2 separate regions of the Homo sapiens genome follow, and region 1 is linked to region 2. Evidence: promoter capture Hi-C in human tissues and cell types (Jung and others, 2019). All regions are on one chromosome and are shown on one strand. Each heading gives the region's core, a stretch centred on a gene start or on the middle of the fragment in contact. The rest is flanking DNA. Distances are from core to core; before and after follow the strand shown. Region 1 has its middle 59 kb from the start of NEK3. Region 2 holds the start of NEK3 (NIMA related kinase 3).

Region 1 (4,236 bases), core at 957-3,456, 59 kb before region 2:
ACTTTGGGAGGCTGAGGCGGGCGGATCACCTAAGGTTGGAAGTTCGAGACTAGCCTGGCCAACATGGTAAAACTCCGTCTCTACTAAAAATACAAAAATCAGCCAGGCGTGGTGGCACATGCCTGTAATCCCAGCTACTCAGGAGGCTGAGCCAGTAGAATCGCTTGAACCCAGGAGGCAGATTGCAGTGAGCCGAGATCGCACCACTACACTCCAGCCTGGGCGACAGAGTGAGACTCTGTCTAAAGAAAAAAGCAAAAAAACAGAACAACTATTACTTGGATTTGGAGATTATTGTTCCCAGAAAACCTTCTGCCATATTTGGAAACTTATTTCTCAGTCTAGAAGTTCTCCACTTTAAGTAGCATTTGTTCTGTGCTGGTGAAAAACTGAGATTTTTTTGTATTAACCATACTCTTCAATACAAAAAGAGAAAATATTTTTAAAATGCTTCAGGTCACAGTTGAGGCAGTTGCTATGATTGCATGTGGCATGAATTGGTAGTTATTGTTACAACCAGTTCTAGTCTTTTCTTCAAATCTGAGCTGGATCTAATAACTCCTTAAGTCCAGCAAGGCAACAGTAAATTAAACCTCTGGTCTACACACTTGCAATACATACACATTTAATAGATTTTGATAGAGTGAACTTTGGATTGGATGGAAATTTTTTAAAAATTTGTTTCTTGGATGCATACAAACAATAAGCTTTGACTCCTAACATGAGCAAAGTCCCTCAATTGTGAGAGCTGGGTGGAGCTTCATTTGTTGCTGCTCCTCAAATTGATTCTTGGTAAAGGATACAGATTTTTCCTTTGAAACACCATGTTCATTTTGGGGAAGCAATAAGTTAGATCACCTTTATTTTCACTTTTATATAAATTTCTAAAGATTTCTGTAATATTTAAATTTATATACTATTGGTAAAGCTGTTTTTCTTAGTTGTGAAATTGTTGTTTAGCCAAAAATGCCAACTTCTGTCTTTTAGAACACTAGGCATAAATGGGTTAACCAATTTATGCCTAGTGTTCCATTATTGGAATGCTAAGCATGTGGGATTTATTTATATCCTACTGCTCAAGGTCATCGCCAAGGGCTGATTGCAAAAATTCAAAAAATTGCAACCTCAGGCATAAATTAAAAGAGATATAGTATTTTATTATTGGGTTTTGATACATGTCTAATCAGACTGATTTCTGTCACATATAGAAATTTAGATACTGTATTAAACCTAGATGTCATTAATTCCATAAAAAGCAACGTTAAAAGAATCAGTAGCATGTGTTACTGATGTGTTGCTGAAGATTAAGATATTTTTAAGTCTCACCGAAAAGGTAGAAGGAGCCAACTGAGACACAAAAAGGGGCTGAGGTTCTATTCATGGTGAGCAAGTCTTTTTTTTGTTTGTTTCTTCAAGCTCTAACAAGGGTGCCTACTACATGGCTTTTCAGTTAGCCCCAAAATAAAATGTAACAATTTTTTTTTCTATTCTTAGGCTTTATCTACAAAGAAATGAATTGGATAATCTTCATAAACAAAAAACATGGAAAATTTATCAACCAGAATATGCAGTAGAGATATATTTTAATGAGAAATGACTTAAGTTATGTTGTAACTGGTAGCTGATTAAGTATAGTTCCCTGCACCCCTTCTGGGAAAGAATTATGTTCTTTCTAACCCTGCCACATAGTTATATGTTCTAAATCTTCCTTGCTGGTACATCTATATTGATATATGTATACACATGTTCTTTATAAATCTATTAAATATATACAGATAAAATGTCAGGTTTTTTTTCTTTTTGAAGGCATATATTTCACAGTTTCCATCTTGTATTTACATACATTTGGAACACAGTACTTAGGAACATTAGGCGTCATTTTGAAGAACTTTGAAATAGAACTTTCGTATCAAAATAATTGAGAGATAATTAAAAATTGTGATCCCCCAACACCCACTTACTTATACATTTTTGGTCAGGTATTTATTCCCTGCTTTTTTTCACATTTGTAATTTCAGGTTTATTAGAAAGCTAATTTATATTTTTCCTTCTACTCGATTTACAAACTGTTAACAGATTGGCAGCAAAGACTAAGTTTTAAACCCAGAAGAGAGAAATATTTCACACAAGCAGTCCCCCAACTCCCAACACACACTTTTCTCTTGTTCCAAGCACTAAATGGGTAGCTTACTTAACAAGCTTCCTTTAATTACACACAGACATGGGGGTTGGGGTAAGAAGGGCGTAGTAAATATGAAGGAGAAGTAACCTTCAGTAACTTCTGCTTTTGTATAAAATTGTAAGTGAAGTCAAAAGAAATATTTGTTCTTAGAGTAATTTAGGTGTATTATTTTGAAATCCACTACTCCTGCTCACAACCAATGTCACCTAAGCCCTGGGGGAACTCTGAAGGGAGGTAATCTTTTCAGTGTAAACAGTGTTTAGCCCTGTGTCCACAGGGAATCATTATTATTTCCTCATTGGTGCTGGATGCTACTTTTTTATTAAACACTTTCTTTTTTTTTTTGAGACAGTCTCACTCTGTCACCCAGGCTGGAGTGCAGTGGCACGATCTCGGCTCACTGCAACCTCTACCTCCTAGGTTCAAGTGATTCTCCTACCTCAGTCTCCTGAGTAGCTGGGATTACAGGTGCGTGCCACCACACCTGGCTAATTAAACAAAATTTTTTATTTTTATTTTGTACTTTTTGAGACGTGGTCTCACTCTGGTTGCCAAGACTGGAGTGCAGTAGTAGGATCTTGGCTCACTGCAGCCTCAACCTCCTGGGCTCAGGTGATTCTCTCACCTCAGCCTCCCCAGTAGCTGGGACTATACGTGCATGCCACCATGCTTGGCTAATTTTTGTATTTTTAGTAGAGATGGGGTTTCACCATGTTGGCCAGGCTGGTCTTGAACTCCTGACCTCCAGTGATCCACCCGTCTCGGCCTCCCAAAGTGTTGGAATTACAGGCATGTGCCACCATGTCTGGCCACTTTTATACCATTAGCAAAATGCAGAGTAGTGGAAGAGGTTGTCTGAACCAGATTTGAGGAGGTGAAGGATCAGAAATGTCTGAGAAAATGCAAGGGAACCCACCTTTCTTTTTCTTTTTTTTTTTTTAAACAGAGTCTCTGTCGCCTAGGCTGGAGTGCAGTGTTGTAATCTTGGCTCACTGCAACCTCCGTCTCCCAGGTATAGGTGATTCTTTTGCCTCAGCTTCCCAAGTAGCTGGGATTATAGGTGCCTGCCACCACGCCAAGCTAATTTTTGTATTTTTAGTAGAGATGGGGTTTCACCATGTTGGCCATGCTAATCTCAAACTCCTGACCACAGGTGATCCACTTGCCTTGGCCTCCCAAAGTGCTGGGATTGCAGGTGTGAACCACCATGCCCAGCCAGGTGAAATCATTTCAATACAAATTCTAAACAGAAGAAAAAGATTGAACTGAAACCACCCTACAACATCCCCAGAACCTACACTAGGGTTAGTGTCATGATAACTGCCAGTGGTTAGTGTTTACCATCTCCCCCTGGACCTGAAAGGAGCCCTTAAAGCTTTATCAAAATGCAAAAGAAGGCTTACAAAAAATGTTTAAGAATTGTATATGGCTAGCCAGTTTTCCCAACACCATTTATTAAATAGGGAATCTTCTCCCCATTGCTTGTTTGTGTCAGGTTTGTCAAAGATCAGATGGTTGTAGATGTGTGGTGTTATTTCTGAGGCCCCTGTTCTGCTCCATTGGTCTATATATCTGTTTTGGTACCAGTACCATGCTGTTTTGTTTGCTGTAGCTTTGTAGTATAGTTTGAAGTCTGGTAGCATGATGCCTCCAGCTTTGTACTTCTTGCCCAGGATTGTCTTGTCTATGTGGGCTCTTTTTTGGTTCCATATGAAGTTTAAGGTAGTTTTTTCCAAGTCTGTGAAGAAAGTCAGTGGTAGCTTGATGGGGATAGCATTGAGTCTATAAATTACTTCGGGCAATATGGCCATTTTCACGATATTGATTCTTCCTATCCATGAGCATAGAATGTTTTTCCATTTGTTTGTGTCCTTTCTTATTTCCTTGAGCAGTGGTTTGTAGTTCTCCTTGAAGAGCTCGTTCACATCCCTTGTAAGTTGTATTCCTAGGTATTTTATTCTCTTAGTAACAATTGTGAATGGGAGTTCACTCATGATTTGGCTCTCTGTTTGTCTATTATTGGTGTATAGGAATGCTTATGATTTTTGCACATT
Region 2 (4,246 bases), core at 367-2,866:
CAAGGACTTTTGCCTAGAAACCAATGAACTGTCATGATAACGCTTTATCTTCAATCAAAATAGTGGGTTACGAAGGTTATGGATGAACTAGTGAGAACTGACTTCTTACTTCCTTTAAAAACCCTACCCAAAAATAGCTGGTCAGGACACAATTCAAATGCTTCTGGAATCTGTGTTCCTTGAACTGCAATTCTCAGACTGCCAATAAACTTCTTTACTTGGATTTCGGTCTCTCTGACTCTGGTTGACACGTTATAATGAACACGTTCAGCGCTTACAAGTAAAGGGTAACCAGATGTTGTTCACAGTAATCCTATGAGGTAGGTTCTATACTTTTATACAGAGGGATTTAGTTACTCTGCTGTATTAGTTTCCTAAGGCTTCTGTAACAAACTGTGACAACCTAAGTGGCTAAAACGACACGAATTTATTACCTTACAGTTCTGAAGTTCAGAAATACAGCTCACTGGGTTAAAATCAAGGCGTCAGTGTGCATGGTGGTTTTCCTGTAGTCCCAGCCACTCAGGAGGCTGAGGTGGGCGGATCGCTTGAGCCCGGGAGCTCAAAACCAGTCTTGGCAACATAGCAAGACCCTGTTTCAAAAAACAAAAAAATCAAGGGGTCAGCTGGACTGTTACTTCTGGAAGCTCTGGGGAACAATTTGGTTTTTGTTTTTTGTTTTTCCCTCCTTTTCTAGCTTCTCCTCCTTTTCCACCTCCCACCTCCTCCTTTATATATATATATATATATATATATATATTTTTTTTTTTTTTTGGAGACAGGTTCTTGCTCTGTCACCAAAGCTGGACTGCAGTGGTGGGATCATGAGCCCTCTCCAGCTCTAGTGATCCTCCTGCCCCAATCCCCCGAGCAGCTGGGACCACAGTGCCCGTCGCTATGTCTAGTTAATTTTTCGTAGAGACGAGTGTCTCACTATGTTGCCCAGGCTGATCTCGAACTCCTGGGCTAAAGTGTTCCTCTCCTGCCTCTGCCTTCCAAAGCACTGGGATTGCAAACATGAGACACTGTGCCTGCTCCTCTTCCAGCTTCTTGAGGCCAGCTGCATTCCTTGGCTGTTGCCCCTTCCTCCACCTTCAAATAGCTTTCTCATACTGACCTTCTTTTTGGGCCCCTTCCACTTTAGAGAACCCTTGTAATTACTTTGTAATTACCCAAGCACACACTCCAAGATCGTCACCTTATTTTAAAGTCCGCTGATAAGCAACCTTAATTCCATCTGCAATCTTAACCCCCTCTGCCAAGCAAGAGAACAAACGCACAGGTTCCAGGGAGTAGGATGTGGACATCCTGAGGCGGAAGCATTATCCCGCCTTCCACAATTGCCCAAGGTCACATAGCTAGTAAGTTCTAGCTAGCACTGAGTGCTGTGCCCGTGAAATTTATCTACATAGGCTTTCACTTAACCTGCAGACAGAACTCAGTTAGTCGGGGACAATTTCCCTCAATGTTAACAGCACTGTTCCACCGCAACGTGGAACAACAGCTTTAAAACGTGCTCTTCGTAGGCCCGGCTACTCCAAGAACAGTGCCTCCCGCCAGACCCAGGCGGCTTCCTTCACCCGCAACCCGAGAGACGACCCGCCGGGCCCGCCCCGCGGAAGCCGCCGGTTGCCAGGCCAAGGAGTGGACTAGGGTCGCCGGGGAAGCGGGTGAGTGGTCCCCGCCCTGGCGGGCTGCCTCTAGAACGAGGAGGGCGGCGCGTGGTCGCGGCGCGGAGCCGAGTGGGAGCGAGGGGTAGACGCGCCCCGGACGCGCGGCCGCGCCCCTCACTTCCGCCCCGCGGTCTGGACCACTCGCCGCAAACCCGCAAGTCCCTCGCCGCCTTGGGGTCTGGGCGCGCGGTGCCGTGGGGGTCAGCAGGGCGGAGCGGCTTTTCCAGGAGAAAGGGCCCTCACGGGTGAGCGGGGCGACTGGGCTCCCCCGCGGTGCAGTTGCCCCGCGGGCGCCGGCCCCGGCTCAACGGATTCTTCTCGCTCGCTGCCCGGAAAGAACCAGTGAGAACCGCTGTTGCAGCAAAAAAAGAAGTTAATAAGCGCAGGGCTGGCCAAACCAGAACAGGGTCTCAGACCTGTCTCCCCGAGAATTCGGGGGCGAGGGTTTTAAAGGGCATTTTGGCTTCGGGGGGCTGGGGAACTGAAACAGTTGACCGGCTGGGGATGAAATCACAAGAGCTTCTGAAACTCGGGGCGGCTTCGTTGGTTCCCAGGAAGGGGTGGGGTCAGTTTCCCTTGTCTTGAAGTTTACACGAAATCCCTCTCCCAGTTATCCTAGCCTCTGTGCTAGAATAAGAAAACGACAACACGGTGAAAACTTAGCCCGTGAGGTTAGAAGCAAGATGGAGTCAGTCATGTTAGATTTCTCGCATTACTTATACATCTGTAAAGGTGGTTTCAGGGACCTTTCTGAACTTAGCCCGTATCTCACTGGTGATCCCACTTCTGGGTATTTGCAAATCACTTTATTAGGTTTTTAAAAGTATTGTTGCAGGCATGCGAAGGGGCCGATATACTTTTGCCATGTCCAGAGTGTATTCAGGTCTTGTAATGATCATATGGGTGTAATATTGAGTAACAGGCAAATGTGGGCAGAAAATATCAAATGTGGTTTTCAGCTAAGAAGTCTGGTTGCTCTTAATTTTCAGTTACTCTCCATTGCATAGAATAAAGCCCCGAAGAAACGAAGAATAAGATCATGGGGAAACTTGGCTTCCATGTTAAACCGTGTAATACCAGGTGTTAGAATAGTAGTAAAGGACTTGTTTCTTTCACATCTATATACACTCAAAAGACCTCATCGATCTTGGAAAAACATTGTTTCGAAGACAATGTGTATGACTGATTTGGTTATATGAAGAAATTATTTCTAGGATTTCCTGGTAATTCTGTGATAAACAGTAATACAAACTGGAATTTTTACAGGTCACTATAGTAGAGGTTTTAGTTTGATTTTTGCTTTGCCTGTCATGCTCTCTCTGCCTTATAATTCTTTGTGGTGTAATTAAAAAACGAACACTAGGGCCGGACGGGGTGGCTCACGCCTGTAATCCCAGCACTTTGGGAGGCCGAGGCGGGCGGATCATCTGAGGTCGGGAGTTCGAGCCCAGCCTGACCAACATGGAGAAACCGCGTCTCTACTAAAAATACAAAATTAGCCGGGCGTGGTGGCGCATGCCTGTAATCCCAGCTACTCGGGAGGCTGAGGCAGGAGAATCACTTGAACCTGGGAGGTGGAGGTTGCGGTGAGCCGAGATCGCACCATTGCACTCCAGCCTGGGCAACAGGAGCGAGACTCCGTCTCAAAATAAAAAACAAACACTGTAAGCTTTTTGAAAAATCAAGTAAATTCATTACAGTGTTTTTCCTGCAATGAAAAAGAATGCATCACTTCCCTAAGGTTTTAATAATCATAATAGCTGCCAGTTATTCAGGACCTTGTATGTACCAGGCAAAGTGTTAGGAACGTTTTATCCATTTTCTCTTATGTGCTAAGCAGTCCCGCTAGCTGCTTCATCCTGGAAATATAGATGGGAGACTGAAGTCAAGGACTCCAACTGTGTGTTTAACATCTCTCTTGACTCCCAGGAACCTCCAGTTTGGCATGTCCAAAATGAAACACATGTCTGTCTTCTATCAATATGTTTTGCCCAACCCCTGCAACACTCCCACTTCCAGAAAAATCACACAAACAAAAAACCACACACACAACCATTGTGCCTTTCCTCTCTCAGGGAGTGCCAAGAAACCATCTGGTTCATGCCAGAAACTTGGGAGTCAACCTTGCCCCCTTCTCTGCTTGCCCCCCATAAATCTGCCACCACAAATCCTGTCAACTGTTCTTACATCTTTCCTTCCCATTTTTTCTGACCCCATTGCCTCCACTCTATTCCATTTCATTATTTTCCTGCCTTTTCTATTGTTGGAGCCTCCTAACTGGCCTGTGTCTCTGAGCTGGCCTTCCTGCCCCTCCTCCACTGGTCCATTTAATCTGCAATCTGAGTGAATGTTTTTTCTAATATGCAAATATGATTATATTGCCTTCTTGGTTAAAATGCTTCAGCAGCTTGTTACATTCTTCTTTCAATTTCTTGAACTGAATGTAATTTCTTTAGCTCTTAAATATGCAATTTCCTCTTCCTTGATTACTCTTTTCCTCCTCTTTGTCTAGCCAAGTTTCATTCATCCTTCAGGCTTCAGCTTAAATAGCCTACATTTGTTGAGGTTTATGG

What was found. The method cuts DNA at HindIII sites, captures the fragments that hold promoters and counts their contacts. A contact is called where the count stands out against the background at its distance.
Region 1: a fragment that was not itself captured here is called in contact with the fragment with the promoter of NEK3 in region 2 in 1 of the 25 tissues and cell types used here (mesenchymal stem cells).

Annotation. Positions count from the first base shown.
Region 1 is chr13:52,216,889-52,221,124 of GRCh38, reverse strand. It overlaps the pseudogene TPTE2P2. Among named protein-coding and RNA genes, the nearest start is that of NEK3, 59 kb to the right of the region's middle. The HindIII fragment of the contact is 3,910 bases long and covers 252-4,161 here.
Region 2 is chr13:52,156,967-52,161,212 of GRCh38, reverse strand. NEK3 (NIMA related kinase 3) reads left to right here and starts at 1,616. Exons shown (of 16, transcript NM_002498.3): 1 at 1,616-1,670. LOC124903176 (a long non-coding RNA gene) reads right to left here. Exons shown (of 2, transcript XR_007063806.1): 2 at 3,867-4,246. RefSeq lists silencers at 1,680-1,739, 1,820-1,929. The HindIII fragment of the contact is 9,103 bases long and covers 1-4,246 here.